Regions from separate parts of the Homo sapiens genome. Here regions 1 and 2 are each linked to region 3. The links are contacts of gene promoters, found by promoter capture Hi-C in human tissues and cell types (Jung and others, 2019). All regions are on one chromosome and are shown on one strand. The core of a region is centred on a gene start or on the middle of the fragment in contact, and the rest is flanking DNA. Distances in the headings are between cores, read along the strand shown. Region 1 overlaps PLCXD3 (phosphatidylinositol specific phospholipase C X domain containing 3). Region 2 has its middle 90 kb from the start of PLCXD3. Region 3 holds the start of PLCXD3 (phosphatidylinositol specific phospholipase C X domain containing 3).

Evidence for each region. Contacts are between HindIII fragments. The study calls those that stand out against the background at their distance.
Region 1: a fragment that was not itself captured here is called in contact with the fragment with the promoter of PLCXD3 in region 3 in 2 of the 25 tissues and cell types used here (adrenal gland and neural progenitor cells).
Region 2: a fragment that was not itself captured here is called in contact with the fragment with the promoter of PLCXD3 in region 3 in 5 of the 25 tissues and cell types used here (aorta, bladder, heart right ventricle and 2 more).

The regions. Positions count from the first base shown.
Region 1 is chr5:41,420,472-41,424,183 of GRCh38, forward strand. The region is part of intron 1 of PLCXD3 (phosphatidylinositol specific phospholipase C X domain containing 3); the gene reads right to left. Among named protein-coding and RNA genes, the nearest start is that of PLCXD3, 88 kb to the right of the region's middle. The HindIII fragment of the contact is 4,490 bases long and covers 1-3,712 here.
Region 2 is chr5:41,599,349-41,602,837 of GRCh38, forward strand. No RefSeq gene overlaps it. Among named protein-coding and RNA genes, the nearest start is that of PLCXD3, 90 kb to the left of the region's middle. The HindIII fragment of the contact is 7,979 bases long and covers 1-3,489 here.
Region 3 is chr5:41,508,916-41,512,432 of GRCh38, forward strand. PLCXD3 (phosphatidylinositol specific phospholipase C X domain containing 3) reads right to left here and starts at 1,686. Exons shown (of 3, transcript NM_001005473.3): 1 at 1,509-1,686. The coding sequence starts at 1,611. RefSeq lists an enhancer at 1,212-2,040. The HindIII fragment of the contact is 4,804 bases long and covers 1-3,517 here.

The DNA.
Region 1 (3,712 bases), core at 980-3,479, 88 kb before region 3:
GATTATAATAATCACGTTTTCTTTTAGGAATGTAACAGTGACATGAAAGATGCAAAGGAATCAAACTGTCAGGGTCTACCTCCAAACCCCTTCCCCTCTTAGCTAGAAAACATGTTACATCTCTCAGACTGGGCTTCTGCCAAATCTGCCATGCTTAGCAGTCTTAATTTCTTCTGCTTCTCAGTGACAAGTGACTGGCACCTCCAATGCTTGCAGAGAGAATTTATCTTTGCATGGCAGGATAATTGTATACAATAAGCCAGGACATGAAACACAGATACAAAATGGCGTTGTGTCAGCATTTTTAGTCTTTCCTCCAACCCTAACTTTGTCACATCACCTTTGCATTGTCTGCAAGTTCTTGGTTGCCGTCACTACGCTAATTCTGGGCAGCTTCTCTCTGCAATCATGTGACCATATAACTCCATTATGTGAGGCTACAGATAATAAAATGCTACTATTTATTAATACTCAGGGATACTTTTCCCCTGCATTTCCTGCATTCTTTCAGTGGAATCTTACCCACAAGTAGATCCCTGATATCCTTTTACTCTCCTAAGGTAAAGGGAACATCATTCCAGTGATAATATCTGATCTCTCAAGCCCTAAAGAAGTTATTTTCTGGTAACATAAAAATGGAAAGATATGCCTAATATAAAATGTTAGGCATATTTTAGGATAATATTAGGCATAATATCCAAACATCAAAACAGAGTGTATTAAATTCTCACTGAGTCATATTTCTGTTTGTGCAACAGTTTTATAAAATTTATTGTCAACTATACATTATTCAATCCCTAATTCTTTTTTAATTGTCTTCTGGACCATATTGCTCTAATATATAAGTAATTTGAGGGTAGGTAGGGTCCATGAATTATATTTCTTATAATAGCCTATAGAGTATTATTCCGTTAGATGTTTAGCAGATCCTTAAAAAATACTCTTTGGAGCTGGGCGCGGTGGCTCACGCCTGTAATCCCAGCACTTTGGGAGGCCGAGGCGGGCTGATCACAAGGTCAGGATATTGAGACCATCCTGGCTAACACGGTGAAACCCCGTCTCTACTAAAAATACAAAAAATTAACCGGGCGCGGTGGCGGGGGCCTGTAGTCCCAGCTACTCGGGAGGCTGAGGCAGGAGAATGGCGTGAACCCGAGAGGCGAAGCTTGCAGTGAGCCGAGATTGCGCTACTGCAGTCAGGCCTGGGCGAAAGAGCGAGACTCCTTCTCAAAAAAACAAAACAAAACAAACAAACAAACAAAAAAGCTCTTTGGTAGAATTTAGATGAATGGAAAGCTTAAATATACGCACATTTTAATTTCAGCTGATTTGAAAGAATATTCAAACATAAGTCAACTCAGGTGTGCTAAAAAACTTTTTTTAGGTGACAAAGCAGTGAGATTCCAAGTCCTGGTTACCCGTTAATAAAACAAGCATTATGTAACAACATGCTTTTCTTCATATATTTACTATAATTCTCGATATCACTCAGAAATATAAACAACCTAGGTATTTCCATATATATATATATATTGCTAATGCATAGGAAGATATCAACCTACCTTTAAGAGTTACTTACATATGTATTAATTTAAACACACTTACTGTATTTTTATCTTTATTCTTAGTCTTTATAGACAATAGAAAGTATATATTATTGTAAAGGGCTATTGGAACTCCATATTTCTGAATTATTACTCACCTACAGCCAAATTAATCAGCTTGCTCTTTCCTATAAATAACTTCCTTATCCCTGACTGTTTTTTCACATACGCCTTCTCCGTTTTATCAGTCCTGGAAATGGCTTCAAAACATGACTGAAATCTCCTTGAGGAGCATAATGTGGAGGTAAGAATGTGGACTTGGCAGCAATATGAACCAGGGTTTAATCTTACCTTTGACTTTTACAAGGCTCTGTAGCCTTGGGAAATTTATCAACCACCATCTTTTCATATCTGGGTAGGATGGGTCTCATCCTTCCTTTTTACTACCTTAGTCCAAATTGCCTTGGCCAATCTTGGAGTTTCATTCTTTCATTTGAATTTTAGACTATATTAATCAGATATATTAAAAAATTGAAAAATTTGTTAGGATTGCATTAATTGATAGAAAAATTGCGAGACAATTGTCATCTTTATGATATTGACTCCTCCCACCTTCCAACATTATATTTCTCTTCATTTCCTCAGATCTTCTTTTAAAGAGTCTTCAATAAAGTTTTACACATTTATCTAAAAAGTTCCTATGCTCCTTTTGTCAGATTTATTTCCAGGTATCTTTTACTTCGTTTGCTATAAAAGTGGCATTTTTTTCCAGTATGTGTGTTTTTCTTTTGCTTTTTTTGATACTGTACTAGCTGGTCCTCCAACCCAGTGCTAAATAGCAGTAATAAAAACAGGCATCTTTGCCTTCTTTGTGAATTTAGAGAGTCCTTTTCATTGTGAAATAGAATACTAGGTTAGGTAGTTGATAGATATACTTTATCAGCTTAAGGAATCTCTCTTCTATTCTTAATTTTCTAAAAAGTATTAATTTTTTAAAAAAAATTATGAATGGGTGTTGAATATTATCAAATGCCTTTTCTATATTTGTGAGGTGATCAAATTATTTTTTCTTTTTTTATCTGTTAATATGGTAACATTAATAGATATTCTAATTTTAAACTATTCTTGCATTCTTCGCAGAAGCCCTATCTGACTTTGATTTATTATTTTATTTTTATCTTCTCCCAGAACAGTTTATATGAAAAATGGGTTATATGTTCTTTGATGGTTTGGTAGATTATGCTGGAAATATACTTTGGTCTAAATGCTGTGTTTTGTGGTTAGAATAAAGTTTTTTTATGCTTAATTATTATAAGGCTTTTGAATTTTCTGCTTCTAGTTGAGTCATTTTCAGTTAAGTTCTATTTTTTAAAAATATTAAGTTTTTCAAGTATATTGGCACAAAGTAGTTCATGGAATTCTCATAAAATTCTGCTGCATCAATAGTTATGGCCTTCATTTCTAGAATGATTATTTTTATATTCTCCTTTTTTCATCAATTTTTCCACAGATTAGTCTATTTTATTAGAAGAAATAGATTTTAATTTTGTTGACTCCATATTTTCTGATTTGATTTGTATCAGATGATTATATTATTACTTTATATATTTTTCTTTTCTAATATATACATAAAAGGTTGTGAATTTCTGGCCGGGCGTGGTGGATCACGCCTGTAATCCCAGCACTTTGGGAGGCCGAGGCGGACGGATCACCTGAGGTCAGGAGTTCGAGACCAGCCTGGATCCATTTTTGCTCTCATCATTTTTTTTCTCCTTTATTGAGTTTTGATCTTTCCCTACCTTTGTTGAGATATATTTGAAAAATAAAAACTGTATATATTTAAGGTGTACAACTTGATGTTTTGATACATTGTGAAATAATCACAAACTAATTAAAATACCCATCACCTCACATAGTTACCATTATCTTTCTTTTGTATGTGTTTTGTGAGAATACTTAAGACCAACTCTTCAAGCACTTTTCAAATATACAATATAGTATGTTAACTATAGTCACACTGCTATACATTAGATCTCCAGAAATTATTTGTCTTGCAAAATTCAAACTTTCTACCCTTTGACCAACATCTCTCCATTCCCCTTCCCCCAGCCCCCAGCAACTATTCACAATAGCCAATATATGGGTTTAATTTCCTTTTTATTTTTCTA
Region 2 (3,489 bases), core at 24-2,523, 90 kb after region 3:
CAACAGGTGCTGGAGAGGATGCGGAGAAATAGGAACACTTTTACACTGTTGGTGGGACTGTAAACTAGTTCGACCATTGTGGAAGTCAGTGTGGCGATTCCTCAGGGATCTAGAACTAGAAATACCATTTGACCCAGCCATCCCATTACTGGGTATATACCCAAATGACTGTAAATCATGCTGCTATAAAGACACATGCACACGTATGTTTATTGCGGCACTATTCACAATAGCAAAGACTTGGAACCAACCCAAATGTCCAACAATGATAGACTGGATTAAGAAAATGTGGCACATATACACCATGGAATACTATGCAGCCATAAAAAATGATGAGTTCATATCCTTTGTAGGGACATGGATGAAATTGGAAACCATCATTCTCAGTAAACTATCGCAAGAACAAAAAACCAAACACCGCATGTTCTCACTCATAGGTGGGAATTGAACAATGAGATCACATGGACACAGGAAGGGGAATATCACACTCTGGGGACTGTGGTGGGGTCGGGGGAGGGGGGAGGGATAGCATTGGGAGATATACCTAATGCTAGATGACACATTAGTGGGTGCAGCGCACCAGCATGGCACATGTATACATATGTAACTAACCTGCACAATGTGCACATGTACCCTAAAACTTAGAGTATAATAATAATAAAAAAAAAAAAAAAGAAAGTTTAATTGTCTCTGAGCAGCAGGAAGTCAGGGTAACAGTGGCATCTACTGTTTTTCATACAAGACCTTGTATGGTAAACAACCATTTTTATCTTCAAACTGTGTACATGTATACATTTTTATTTCTTTATTTATTTTAAACAAGAATGCCTTACTATGCTACCTTTCAGTTAGGTTATTTTGTTTCACTACATGGTATGTTTAAGCTTAGTTGTGAAATAAAGAATTCGTGACTAAATTCTACACATTTACTAATAATGAGTATATAGATCCAAGGTCTAATCAATATATATTGGAAAATGAATAAATAGTGAATTAATGAATGAAAAATTAAATGTTCACTTTGTATTGAATGTCAAAACCATATATAACCTCCTTTAATTACTATAAACAGAAAAACATTAGACCAATTTGCTGAAAATTTCTGACATATTGTTTGTCATCATCAACAAGAAATAATCTGGCTATAATATAGAAATTTAAGAAAATACTGAATAAACTATAAATCATATTTTTAAAAATGCATCAGAGAGATAAAGATGCACAGACACCTCAATGACCAAAACTCAGAGAGGGACAATCCCTATGTGAGCACAGTCTGGAAGGTTCTTTCATTTCTTGGGGTCACAGGGCACTGAGAAGTAAGCCCACCACACACCAGGAGAATTTGCCCCAACCTGAAGAAACCAGCTAAAATTTAATAACCCTGTGGGATATGCTATAGATGAGACAGTGAAGAAGCCCCAGGCAGAACTAGCTCACCTTGCCCATTGTTTCCCCAACGGATTTCTTTCTTTACTGAGTGTGTGGCTGCTTGCAGGAGCTGTTAAGCAAAAAGGAATATCCAGTGATTGATGGAGCCCGTACCAGTGCATGAGAACCAATTATGTATGTCTCTTCCTGAGTCTGCATTCAGTAACATGTCAGTAGACTGAAACTGCACATGGTGGCAGCATTCATACTACAGACATCAGCAGATGCTGCAAATTAGACTTTCTTTTTAGGACAGTTCATTAAGCATTTACCAGCACACCACTGGCTATATTCCATGGTACAGGATACTGCAGGCTGGGCAGAAAAGTTGAGTAAGTATAGTCTCAAAGTGCCTAAAACTCAAGCCTTGCTGGAAGAAGTAACCTAAATCTGCTCTGAGGGCATTTGTAACTGGTGGCGAACTGAAATTAAATACAGCCCAATCCTGACCTAGGTTAATTCATAATGAGAAGAAATCAGCTCCTAACCCCTGACAGATGAAACATTGTACACTTTCTGGAGCTAAATACTATTTATTTCAATCTCTACTTTTTTATACACAATATCTAACATATCAAAATAATTTTCATATAAGCCAAAGTAGGAATATACCATCCAGCAGAAGAAAAAAACTGTTCAGTGAAGTAGACTCACAGAAAATCCAGGTGCAAGAATTAGAAAACAAGAACTTAAAAATACCTATTATAAATATGTTGCAGAAATAAGATTAAAAGGTAGATACCATGAGTAAAAAAGATAATGAATCTCAGCGGAGAAATAAAAAAATTAAGAAGTAAACAAAGGGAAATTTCTGGAACTGAGAGTATAATATACCCTATGAAGAATTCATATAATAGGGTCAATGGCAGACATAACAGAGCAGAAGAAAAGATCAGTAAACTCAGATAAGTCAATAGAAATTATCCAAACAGAACCACCAAAAAATGTAATATATATACATAAAAACGCACATATTTTACATACACAGTTCATCCTCACCATCTGTGGAGGATTGGCTCCAGGACCTCTTGTGGATACTAAAATCTAGAAATCTTTAAGTCCCTGTTACAAAATGCTGTGGTGTTTGCATATAACCTACACACATTCTTTTGTATACTTTAAATCACTAAATTATTTATAATACCTAAAATACTGTAAATGCTGTCTAAATCATTGTTATACTCTTTAGGGAATAATGGCAAGAAAAGAAGTCCATACATGTTTAGCACAGATGCACTGTTTTTAGAAAAATATTTTCAATCTTTGGTTTATGAAATCCATGGATGCAGAATCCATGAATATGGAAGGACAACTGTATATATAAATACATATACATACATATGTACATGCATGTATGCATACACACATTGAAAGAGAGAGAGGGAATGAGGCAAACAAAATATATAAATAGATCGGCCGGGCGCAGTGGCTCACGCCTGTAATCCCAGCACTTTGGGAGGCGGGCGGATCATGAGGTCAGGAGATCGAGATCATCCTGGCTAACATGGTGAAACCCTATCTCTACTAAAAATACAAAAAATTAGCAGGACGTGGTGGTGGGCGCCTGTAGTCCTAGCTACTCGGGAGGCTGAGGCAGGAGAATGGCGTGAACCCGGGAGGCAGAGCTTGCAGTGAGCTGAGATCACGCCACTGCACTCCAGCCTGGGCGACAGAGGGAGACTCCGTCTCGAAAAAAAAAAAAAAGAAAAAAAATGTTATATATGTATACACATATACGTATATATATATAGATTATGTTAAAGGATTTTTCAGAATCAGTAAGACATTAACTCATAGATTCAAAAAAGGCAACACATATAGAAACATTATAATCAATCTACTAAAAAATCAAGGGTTAAAAAAAGGTAAAGAAGAAAATCTTAAAACTCACCCAAAGTAAAAAGACACATATTCAAAAGAAAAACAGTAATAATTGTCACTCTCCATTTTTACTAATGAATCATAGTAGTCTTTCGGGATTCCGAAATAATTAGCACTAATTCAGAGTCACAGGGAAAAGTAAATATTTGGGAATATGTGTACAATTTTTTTAAAGAC
Region 3 (3,517 bases), core at 436-2,935:
AGTGCTGCATGGAGAAGCTGGGGTTGGTTCTTTTCCTTGGAGATTCCTGGCCGGTAGCAAGCTATCTGTTGAAGAAGGACGAAAGGAGACAGCCCCTTCTGTGGATAGCACTTGTAGTAGCCTGTGCCTGCCATTGCTGCCAAACATCCACTTGACTAACAACCATTGATTTGAGGGACTGATCAATGGCAGCACTCTTGGTTGGAGCATCTAGTGATTTTCAAAATAACCCTTCTTTTGTTTTTGTTTTTGTTGTTTTTTTCTTTATTATGTTTTCCTCCAACAGCTGAGAGGGGGCGCTGGATGGGGCAGATCAAGAGGAGGTAGACCATAACGTTGAGTTTAATAGCCCAGCTCAGCTCAGGGCCAGAAGTGAACTGTTCATGAGTAATTTGCCCTCCAGCCCAGCTCTGAAAAGATCAAGTGTGTGCTCCCCCAGCCCAACTGCATAGCCAAATTGACAATAAAGTATGGCCGTGTCCCAGCTGTCATTGTTGTAAACTGTCCTGAAACGACCCTCACTCCTGGATACCTGATCTAGGGGGTTGTTAGGAGCTGCCACCCTAGAAACCTGCCCAGTCTCTGGTCCAAGTCGCACACATCAAGCTGAAGCTTCTTGATCCCTCAGGTCTCTTCCTCGCTTTGTCCACGCTTCTTTCCTTCTAGACTGTCTGGACACATTCTCAGTCACCTTTTCCGTACTATTTGCCTATTAATCCCACCCCTCCGCTCAGGTCACGCAGGTTCCCCTGCCCAGCTTCTGTCCCGAGCAGTAAACATACGGTCCGCAAGGGTTTGCTTTTTTGACCTGGGCGAAGTGTGTTGCCAACACGCACTTGGACCAGACTCGAGACAGCGGCCACTCGGCCAGGTCCCCCGGGGTCCAAACCGATACGAAATGGTGCCCTCTGCCCGTCGCCCCCTTGGGCTCCTTTTCAAGGGCAGCTATCACGCCGCCTCTGGTCCCTGAACTTTCATCACTCTTCGGGAAGCGCTTTGTCTTTTTAAAGGAGATTGGGGACGAATATTAATGACTGTAGCCGAGAATCTATCAAATCCGCCCAATTCCATGCCAGGGATAGACTCAGGTCCTTGCACCGAAGGCGAGCCCCTGACACTAGCTCGCGTTCTTCACACACGGTCACCCCGCAGACCCAGAGATTTCTCCCACTTCCCCAAATCTGCAGGAGAAACCATAGGAGGGGGTCACGAGGCACCATCCTGGAGCCCAGCTTCTCCTCTGCCCCAGTCCTCCGCATACAACCTGCTTCAAAAGCCCAGGAGAAAAGCAGTCACCTTGACTCTAGCGCCTCGGTCCTTAGGGGTTTGGAAAACGCCAGGAAGCCCAAGGCTACCCGGCACGCGCTCGCCTGGCCTGAGACCCACCCTGGAAGACGAGTTTCCCTCCCGCGGGCATCGTGGCAAGTTACCACTTAGTGGCAGATAAAGCAGGGCGGGGCAGGTGGAGCGGGCGCCGAGCGCCTAGCCCGCAGCCCCTGCGCGCCTACCTGGAATGGCTAAATTGGTGAGGGGGATGCTGTGCATGCTCTCCGGCAGAGTTGCCATCCAGTCGGCTAATTTCAGCTCGTTTTTCCCCTGAGACGAGGCCATCGTGCCAGTCGGCGTGCAGCGCGCTGGTCCCAGCACTCCTCGGGCAGGCTGGCAGGCTGCTGCCGCTAATCCAATGTTTGCTCTAGCCCCGCTAGAGTTTACACTCCTCTCTGCGCCACACCCACAGGATGGCGCAGACACATGCTAATTTTAATAATTATTCAAAACACCCCGTGCTCCCTTAGTGCCTCCGCCAGACTCCGCTGGAGCTTTTGTTCCTGACGTCCGTGCTCAGCTCTCTCCGCTCTCCCCTCCCTCCCCAACCCCCTCCTCCCGTCTTATCCTTCCTAGGCGTCTCTGCCTTTCCTCGCCATTCTGCAGCTTTCCCTGGTTTCTTATTTTTCTTTTCTATTCATTTTTTTCCAACTGCTTTGCCCATGGCTTGCTCGATCCTTTGCTGTGACTTTCTCGTCCTGTTTGTATGAAAGACAGTCTTGCACTTGAACCTAAAATCCTAGCAGACTTTGGGATGTTATTGCCTCCTGAGGAACAGACTTCTCATGCTGGGTTTCAGGGCTTTCCGTCCTTATCAAAGAGCTTTCCTTTTTGTAATCTACAACAGGTTATACCTTTCCTCAGCCAGAGACCACAACCCTGTTTATTAAAAAATGATTATCTTTATTCACTCTTTTGCCTACTTTGTGAAATAGCTGGTAAGTATGAGTCAGTGAAGGGCATGGTAAATTCTAGGTGGTTCCTACTTAATCCTGGGTACCTTGCTCCAGACATTTCAAAGTCAAGAAATGCTACTCCCCCTTCTTTTCTCAGATCATGAGAAGTCTACATTATTTCCATGGAGAACACTGCCTCTGTCCTGTCAGTTTCATGGCACTCAGGGTAAGACTGGAGCCTTATGCTGGAAGAAAATCGCCACATCTCCCAGTGACATGCTCTAATTATTGCCAGTAGCATTTGGTGGAATGTATTTGGCACCATTCAAAGTGATCTATGTGACTGTCTGCATTTTCATTCCTTTGCAGACTGGAAAGATGTGCCTCTCTCAAGAGAAATCACTCACTGGGCCTCCAAAGAACTGTCTGGGTCCACCTGCTCTCAGATGAGTAAAAGGAGAGAGATGAAGTTTTACAAATGTAATGAGAGCAGCAGTGGCCTGAATAGGAATTATAAGAGATGAACTGAAAGTGTGCTGGGCTTTTGCAACCCAGGAAATGGAAATGCAATAAACAGACCTCTGTTCTTTCATGCCAGGGTTGTGTAAATTTTTATTTTTCTATGGGAAATGCTATTAGATTGCGGAAATGACAATCAACATAGGAGACAAAGAGAGCCATGAAACATGAGAATAATTATTCAAGGTTAGTAAATCCATTTAATCCCAAATAGCATTAAAAAATAAGAAAAAACCTAGAGCCTACCTTATTTTCTACAATGATGCTAAGTCCTAAGAATATTCACCCCCAAATGGGGAGCACTATGGGAAAGATAGAGGAGAGGCAACGCCTTATTTTGGTTATCAAATTTTCCATGCCCCTTGTAAAATAAATTCATACCTTCAAGAGGACATGGTACAGTTATCTTTAGTGATGAGGAAGAGATATACTGAAAATTTTCCCCAAATAAATCTTAATATACATGCTAGTACAATAGAACCCACATATCCTTTTAATTAGGATGATAGTTTAGCTTACTATAGGACTCTTGGTCAAGAGATCTACAAACACCACCCTTCTGTAAGAAACCTACAAACACCACCTAATGCTGGTGGTCTCAGGGCATGATTGCAAGGCAATGAGGAAAATTCAAATCTAGTGGTCAGCTGCTCTGTCTCTGAGTAGTTTGGGCAAGTCCTCTAGTCTCTGCTAGCCCCAGTTTTCTCCATTATAAAGTGGTAATAAGAACTCAGAGATTTGTGGTGAAGCTTCCAGAAGAGAGTGCATACATGTTT